Linked DNA regions of Homo sapiens: regions 1 and 3 are each linked to region 2. Evidence: promoter capture Hi-C in human tissues and cell types (Jung and others, 2019). All regions are on one chromosome and are shown on one strand. Each heading gives the region's core, a stretch centred on a gene start or on the middle of the fragment in contact. The rest is flanking DNA. Distances are from core to core; before and after follow the strand shown.

Region 1 (2,745 bases), core at 165-2,664, 61 kb after region 2:
ATCCTCTACGTGTGTCCTCGCGAGACAAGCTCACCGAAATGGCCGCGTCCAGTCAAGGAAACATTGAGGGAAATTTTGAGTCACTGGACCTTACGGAATTTGCTAAGAAGCAGCCATGGTGGCGTAAGCTGTTCGGGCAGGAATCTGGACCTTCAGCAGAAAAGTATAGCATGGCAACCCAGCTGTTCATTGGAGGTGTCACTGGATGGTGCATGGGTTTCATATTCCAGAAGGTTGGAAAGTTGGCTGCAACAGCTGTGGGAGGTGGATTTTCTCTCCTTCAGCTTGCAAACCATACTGGGTATATCAAAGTTGACTGGCAACGAGTGGAGAAGGACATGAAGAAAGCCAAAGAGCAGCTGAAGATCCGTAAGAGCAATCAGATACCTACTGAGGTCAGGAGCAAAGCTGAGGAGGTGGTGTCATTTGTGAAGAAGAATGTTCTAGTGACTGGGGGATTTTTCGGAGGCTTTCTGCTTGGCATGGCATCCTAAGGAAGATGACCTCATGTTCATTGTTCCTGGTTTTTTCCAGCCAGCAGCCTCTACACTCCATCGTAGGACATCGAGTCCCTCCTCTCCTTCTCCCATGCCTTCCTGCCTGCCATGGCAAATCTGAGTGGCTTCTATAAGCTTCTGCTGGTACAAATTAATGTGGCACCATGAGCTTGATGGTGGCAGAAGAGACAATAGTCCTTAGCTCTCCTCCCAGTACACCCCCTACTTGGTCAGTCTGTAGGTCAACAAGAAGGTCAGTCTGTAGGTCAACAAGAAGGTTCCTTTACCCCCATGCAAGACACTTATGAGAACACATTGCAAGATGGCTGACCGTGGAGGATGAGTGGATCCTGAAAGGTTGTCCCAAACTGTTGATTTGGAAAAGAAATAAGCACATAGATAACCTTATTGTGTGCTGCATGGAAAGGAACTGAATACATTTGCCTTTAAGCATGAAAAAAAAAAAAGAAAGAAAGAAAGGGTCCCTTTGAGTTTGTATGTTCAATCAGCAGGGAAAAGAATCACTGCTAATTGGCAGCTAGCAAGAAGAAAAGGATCTCCTTATACTTTTAGTCTTTATTTGTCAGAGCATTGTTATCTGTAATTCCTAGCATTTCTATTTCTACCCTCCACGATGACCAGACAAAGGGCAGGAAATTATCTATTTAGCGTATTTCTGATAGGGCTTTCAGATACTACTAACTGGGGCCACGAGGTATTGGAATTGCACCTCTGCCATGTTTTCATGAAATTGTGGGGTGATCAGGTGTCTGCCAAGTATTAAACTACCGTAAGGAACAGAATGAGGGGAGGAGAGAAGGAGGAAAGTGAGGGAGGAAAAGCAAGGAAATGGCAAAGGTTAAACAAAAAAATTTTTGAGAGCCAAAGCACTCAACAGATTTTTGTTTGATCTTCACCAACCTTTGTAAAGAAATATAGAAGGAATCTGATAGCAGACAAGAGCTGTCCGTCAAGATTATTTCCTTTGGTAATTCTTACAGAACTGGCTGTATTCTTAGCTAGAGAATTCATCTAGTTTAAACATGCACAAACTACTGGAAATGACAGAATCTTAAAATCATGGATGTATCCTTAAGGAAGGCTTGTAAGGATGAGTTAATTTATGTAATTGAAGTATAAGGGTAGCCACTCCAAGAAGCCATTAAAAAATTAATGACATTTTCATTTTTACCTGATTTATCTGAGCAATCACCACAGTCATTTCTTGTGTCACACACCTTGTCCATATATGTCCAAGTCTTCTGGTTGGGACACTTGAATATCAAGTTTTGTGGGAGACTGTTGGGCATTTGACCTATATTAGACAAAAGCATTAATTCTAATAGAAAGCATTCACGTACAATAATGTTTTCATATAATTCTGAATTTTAGTGATTAGTTGCTGGTGACTGTTTTTAAATTTTGGTTACTTGTCTGCCTTACTAGAGTGGGTAGCAGGTTCGTCTTCCCCTTGACTGCAATCCAACTTGCCATTACACAGCTGGGAGGGTGGCAAGCAAGTGCTGAGGTCCTCGCACAAGAAGCCCAGTTGCTGTGAAGCTGTCTTACATTGTCGATGTGGTAAATCTGGAAAATATTTATTTATTTATTTATTTCGAGACGGAGTTTCGCTCTAGGCTGGCGTGCAGTGGCGCCATCTCAGCTCACTGCAACCTCTGCCTCCTGGGTTCAAGCGATTATCCTGCCTCAGCCTCCCTAGTAGCTGGGATTACAGGCACCTGTCACCACACCCGGCTAATTTTTGTATTTTTATTAGAGACGGGACTTCCCCATGTTGGCCAGGCTGGTCTTGAACTCCTGACCTCAAGTGATCCTCCCGCCTCAGCCTCCCAAATTGCAGGGATTACAGGCATGAACCACTGCGCCTGGCCTAAATCTGGAAGATTTATAAGACAAGTATTAAATGTTGACACATGCATTCGTGACCATGAACATCAGCTTTAATAACAACATGCCCCTCTTCCCTCTTCTGCTTCTTACCATCGTTCTTTTTTTGACTGAAGCTTTAGCTGTAACCATTGTTCTTTTGCCCATTATTTCTCCTCCCTCTTTTCTTTCTTATTCTCCCTCATTCTTTTTTGTAATACTACTGTATGTGGGCAAACAAGCATACACTCACCACTGCTGGAGAAGTACTGGAAGGTGCCTGGGAGAGGGTCCATAGGCATAGGCTCTGGCTTGAGCTTTACCATGGGCTGGTTATATAGCCCCCTCCATTATTTTCTTA
Region 2 (2,700 bases), core at 34-2,533:
GCCGAGGGCGGCGCGTAAGGCGGCAGCTGCAGGCCGTAGCCGCAGCCGTAGGGGCCGTAGCCGTAGGCATGCGGGGGCGGCGGGGGCGCGGGCGGGAAGAGCGCGGCGGCGGCTGCCGGGTCGCCCGCGCCCCCTGCGGCTCCCGCGCCGCGCAGCAGCAGAGACTCGGCGGCCGCGGCGTTGGGTGGGAGCAGCGGCTGCCGCTTGAAGCGCTTCCTCCGGCGCAGGAAGCTGCCGTTGTCGAACATGTCGGCGGACTCCGGGTCCAGCGTCCAGTAGTTGCCCTTGCCCGGGTTGCCGGGCTCGCGGGGGATCTTGACGAAGCAGTCGTTGAGCGAGAGGTTGTGGCGGATGCTGTTCTGCCAGGCGGGGAACTTCTCCCGGTAGTAGGGGAAGCGGCCGCTGATGAACTCACAGATCTCGCTCAGCGTCAGCCGCTTCTTGGGGCTCTGCAGGATGGCCATAGTGATGAGCGCGATATACGAGTAGGGCGGCTTCACCAGCGGGTTCTTGGCGCCGCTACCCGCGCTCCCGCCGCCGCCCGCGCCGCCGCCGCCGCCGCCCCCACCGGCTCCTGCCCCCGCCGCCGGGGCCGGGCCCGGGGGCGCCGGGGAGCCCCCAGCAGGCGGGGCCAGCAGGATGTCATCGTCGTCCTCCTCCTCCTCCAGATCCTCCAGCTCGTCCTCCCCGGCGTACGAGCGCCGCCGCCGCCGCCGCTGCGCGGGGACAGCCAGCCGGGGCCCGCCACCGCCGCCCTCGTCGTCGTCCTCCTCTTCCTCGTCTTCTTCGTCCTCGCCCTCCCCCACCACGTCGATGTCTGTTTCCTCGGCGAGGCCAGAGGCATCGGACATCTCAGTGCTCAGGGTCATAGCTGTGGCGCGGCGGCGGCGGGGCGGCGCATGGGGGCGCCGGGCTCCGGGCTCCCTCTGCGCCCCAGCCCGGGTCCCGGGCGGCAGGCCCGGCCGGGGGGCGCCACGCTGGGGGCGCTGCGACTGCGGCTGCCGGAGCTGCGCCGGGGCTGCCGGGTGGCGGCGGAGTCTCGCGCGCCGACTTTATAACTCCTGCGCCGCCGCGGTAGCCGCGCGGATGCTGCGCTCCCTGGGCTCCGCTCGCGCCCGGCCCGGGCGGAGGACTTGACCTTCTCCTCTCGGAGCAGCTTTTGCCCCGTCAGCTGAGGAGGGGGTGGCGGGGCCCGGGCGGGCGAATCAGAACGCCAGGCGCCCAGGAACGTGCGGGACGGGTGAGAGTCTAAGAACAGAGCTCGGCGAGGCCAGGGCTGAGTCCAGGAGAGGGCGGACCTTCCTCGGCTTATAGCAGAAGGGGGCCTGTCACATGGTGTGCACGTCAGAGCGCTGCCGAGGGAAGGAAAGCAAGCCTAGGAAATCAGCCCTTCTCGGGAGAGAAAATTCACCCGTAGGAGGGAGGCAGCAGCTGAGAAGAGTGGGGAGGAGAGGGGACCTCACTATTTCTTGCCAAAGAGGCTGATGCCCGAATTACGCGGCTGTCTGCACCGAGGGCCGCTGCACGAGTTAGACTTCCCAGCCTCCTCAATTAGTCCTCCACCCTAACCTCAGAAGCACACCCGCGACACTCTGGTTTGACCCCTCGACAGCCTGTAGGAGCCTTCCAGCCGGGGGATAACCACCCCATCCTCTGAGGTGGCCCCTGGGGGACGCTCTGGGGTCGGTTGGGGGTGTCCAGCCCCTCCAGATCGGGCGAGCGGCCCCCCATTGGATCTGATGCGAAGCCCCCCAATTTAAGCACGATAATAATTGTTTATTGACCCTTTAACCCATTCTCTTCGGTTTTACTCCAAAGACGTTTGTTTTCCGCCATCTGTTAATAAAAACGCTGTGAGACTGGCGTTTTACTCACTTCTCTGCGATTGAATGCCCTAGAGACTTGACAGTTAAACTAAGCCACTCTAATGAGACGATCTGACAAATGTCATGGGAATAAAGAACGTAATAATTGAATTCGGAGAAGAAATTGAAATTTTTAGTGAAAACCCAAATACACGCACAAAAATTGCACCTAGAAACTACTAAAAAGTTCGACCAGCCTGGCCAACATGGTGAAACCCCGTCTCTACTAAAAATAGAAAAAAATTAGTAGGCGGCGCCTGTAATCCCAGCTACTCGGGAGGCCGAGGCAGGAGAATCGCTTGGACCCGGGATGCGGAGGTTGCAGTGAGCCGAGATCGTGCCACTGCACTCCAGCCTGGGCAACAAGAGCGAAACTCCGCCTCAAAAAAAAAAAAAAAAAACAGAAGTTCGTTCATAATGGGGCTATATAGTTCTCAGTAGGAGGAACATTCTAGTCAGCACTTTGCATAGTAATCTCAAAATACTTAAATTACATAACATATACATATTTCTACTGAGGCTTATTAATAGAAACTATAATGATAGATGACTTTAAGATAAACTTTTTAAAAATGTGTTTTTGGAAAATCCTTAAATATTGTTAATCCTTTCTGGTGAGATGAAAATTTTTTTTATGAGATTAAAGTTCCGCTCAATTCAGTTTTCTTTTCGGGTGACAAGATAGTGGAAATAATTAAGATATGATGCTCTTTTAAATATACCTATCTTTATCACCAACTCAAACGAGCTATTTTGGCTAGTGGAAAAATCCTAATAGTTTGTTGAATTCACATTCACTTATTTGTGCATTTCCTAAAATGCTTCTATTTCAAAG
Region 3 (2,903 bases), core at 281-2,780, 34 kb after region 2:
TACTTCTAGTTCAGTGGAATCGTTGTTTCTCTTGGTGGAAACATTCCTCCCTCTGGAACTAAGACCTCTAGACCAGGAGAGCATAAAGTCACAGGAACAAGAAGCAAAAATGTTGCTAGTGGATTATCGGGCTTAATACTGAGTAATGCCACTCCCATTTCTACACCATGATTCCTGGACCTATGAATCCTAGCTAGAGGAGAAACACCACCAGCTATTAGATGCTGGTTCAGAGCATATACAGCCTTCCAGAGAACCTTGCCCAAGCCCTGCAAGGTATCACCACCTAGCTAGTGCTGTAACTCAATCTTCCAAAGGTCATTCTACAATTCTATCAAACCAGCTGCTTCAGACTGGTGAGAAACACGGTAAAAACAGTGAATTCCACAAGCATGGGCCTATTGCCACACTTCTTTTGCTGTGAGGGGGGTTCCTTGTTTAGAAGCAATGCTGTGTGAGGCCAGGCACAGTGGCTCAATCTTGTAATTCCAGCACTTTGGGGGGCTGAGGTGGGAAGATCACTTAAGACCAGGAGTTCGAGTCCAGCCTGAACAACATAGGGAGACCCCTTCTCTACAGATAATTTAACAAATTAGTCAGGTGTGGTGGTGTTCACCTACAGTCCCAGCTACTTTGGACACTGAGGTGGGAGGATCACTTCAGCCCTGGAGGTGGAGGCTGCATGAACCAAGATCACACCATTGCATGCAGGAAAGGCAAATCCATATCCAGAGTGTCTATTCCTGTAAGAACAAAATGCTGCCACTTCCATGATGGAAGTGATCCAGTGTAATCAACCTGCCACCAGATAGCTGGCTGATCACTCCAGGAAATGGTGCCATATTGAGGATTCAGTATTGGTCTCTGCTGCTGGCACAGTGGGCATTCAGCAGTGGCCATAGCTAGGATGCCCTTGGTGAGTGGAAGTTTATGTTGCTGAGCCTATGCATAACCTCCATCCCTGCCATTACGGTCACCTTGTTCATGAGCCCACTGGGCAATGACAAGGTGGCTGGGAAAGAGGCGGACTGGGATCCACAGACTGGGTCATCTTATGCACTTGATTATTAAAACCCTACTCTGCTGAGGTCACACTTTGTTGAGAATTCACATGAGACATAAAAATCTTCCATTTTTTTTGTGCTAATTCAGAGAGATCTATCTATATACTTCTTTCCCAAATTTTCTTGTCCTTCAATTTTCTAATCACGTTCCTTCCAAGTCCCTGATCACCCAGCCAAACCACTGGCCGTGGTCCATGAATTGGTATATATCACATATCTGGCCATGTATCTTTCCAAGCAAAGTGAACAACCAGGTACACTTCTCAAAGTTCTGCCCACTGGGAGGATTTTTCTTCATCACTGTCCTTCAGAGAAGTTCTGGAAAGGGGCTGTAGTGCTGCAGCTGTCCACTTTAAGGTGGTGCCTGCATATCGTGCAGAACCATCTGTAAACCAGGCCCAAGTCTTCTCTTTGTCTGTGAACTGTCAACTTGTGGGAAACTCCCCATTAAGCCATAGATGCAGGCTGGGAGAGATAAAATGATATAATAGAAGTGGGGGCCATGGTCATTTGGGCCACTTCATGTAGCTTACTTGTGCTTTGAAGGCCTACTCAAACATGATCATGTATACGCCACTTCTATTTGATGATGGGCTCTTGCTCTCCATACCCGACTTTATGGCCTGATGGGTCAGATTACACCCAGCTTATGATAAGCAGCTCAGGTTGCATGGTAACCTGGTGGCCCATGGTTTAGCATTCAGTCTCTAGTAAGGCCCAGTAGCAGATCAAGAGATATTTCTTAAAAGGAGAGTAGTTATCTGCAGAAGATGACAGGGCTTTGCTTCAAAATCCAAAGGGTTTGTGTAGTGACTCATCTGTAGGGGCCTGCCAAAGGCTCCAAACAGCATCTCTCTCTGCAGACACTTCAAGCACAATTGGATCTGCTGTATTACATGGCTCAAGTGGCAGAGCAGCTAGCACAGCAGCCTGGACCTGTTGCAGAGCCTTCTCTCGTCTGCACATCACTCAAAAATAGCAGCTTTTCAGCTCACTCAGTAAACGTGCCAAGTAGCACACACAAATGAAGAATATGTTGCCTCCAAAATTCAAAGAGGCCCACTAGGCATTGTGTCTCTTTCTTGGTTGTAGGAGGGGGCTAGATGCAACAACTTTTCCTTCACCTTAGAAGGGATGTCTCGACATGCTCCACACCACTGGACCCCTAGAAATTTTACAGACGTAGGAGGCACCTGAAGTTTTGTCAAATTTATTTCCCACCCTCTGGCATCCAAATATCTTACCCATAAGTCTAGGGAGTAGCTGCTACTTCTTCCTCACTAAGTCCAATCAGCATAATGTCATCAATGCAATGGACCACTGTTATAGCTTGTGGAAAAAAAAGGTGAGCAAGATCCCTGTGAACTAAATTATGACATAGTGTTGGAGAGCTGATAGACTCCTGAGAAGGACAGTGGCAGTGTATTGCTGGCCTTGCCAGCTGAAATCAAAATGCTTCTGATGGTCTTTACTAACAGGTATGGAGAAAAAATATGCACCAGATTGATAGCTGCATACCAGGTACCAGAGATTGAGTTAATTTGCTCAAACAACGAAACCATATCTGGTAAAGCAGCTGCAATTGGAGTCATCACCCGGTTAAACTTTCAGTAATCCACTGTCATTCTCCAAGATCCGTCTGTCTTCTGCACAGACCAAATAGGTGAGTTGAATAGGGATGTAGTGGAAATCACACCCCCACATCCTTTTAAGTCCTTGCTGGTGGCACTAACCTCTGCAATCATTCCAGGAATGCAGTGTTGCTTTTGGTTTGCTATTGTCCTAGGGAGAGGCAATTCTAGTGGCTTCCATCTGCCATTTCTCACCATAATAGCCCCC

What was found. Contacts are between HindIII fragments. The study calls those that stand out against the background at their distance.
Region 1: a contact is called between a fragment that was not itself captured here and the fragment with the promoter of FOXD1 in region 2, in 2 of the 25 tissues and cell types used here (IMR-90 fibroblasts and thymus).
Region 3: a fragment that was not itself captured here is called in contact with the fragment with the promoter of FOXD1 in region 2 in 4 of the 25 tissues and cell types used here (H1 embryonic stem cells, hippocampus, mesenchymal stem cells and 1 more).

What each region holds. Positions count from the first base shown.
Region 1 is chr5:73,508,761-73,511,505 of GRCh38, forward strand. It overlaps the pseudogene FUNDC2P1. Among named protein-coding and RNA genes, the nearest start is that of BTF3, 12 kb to the left of the region's middle. The HindIII fragment of the contact is 4,146 bases long and covers 1-2,745 here.
Region 2 is chr5:73,447,494-73,450,193 of GRCh38, forward strand. FOXD1 (forkhead box D1) reads right to left here and starts at 1,284. Exons shown (of 1, transcript NM_004472.3): 1 at 1-1,284. The coding sequence starts at 869. The HindIII fragment of the contact is 13,220 bases long and covers 1-2,700 here.
Region 3 is chr5:73,481,087-73,483,989 of GRCh38, forward strand. No RefSeq gene overlaps it. Among named protein-coding and RNA genes, the nearest start is that of LINC01386, 9.6 kb to the left of the region's middle. The HindIII fragment of the contact is 5,309 bases long and covers 1-2,903 here.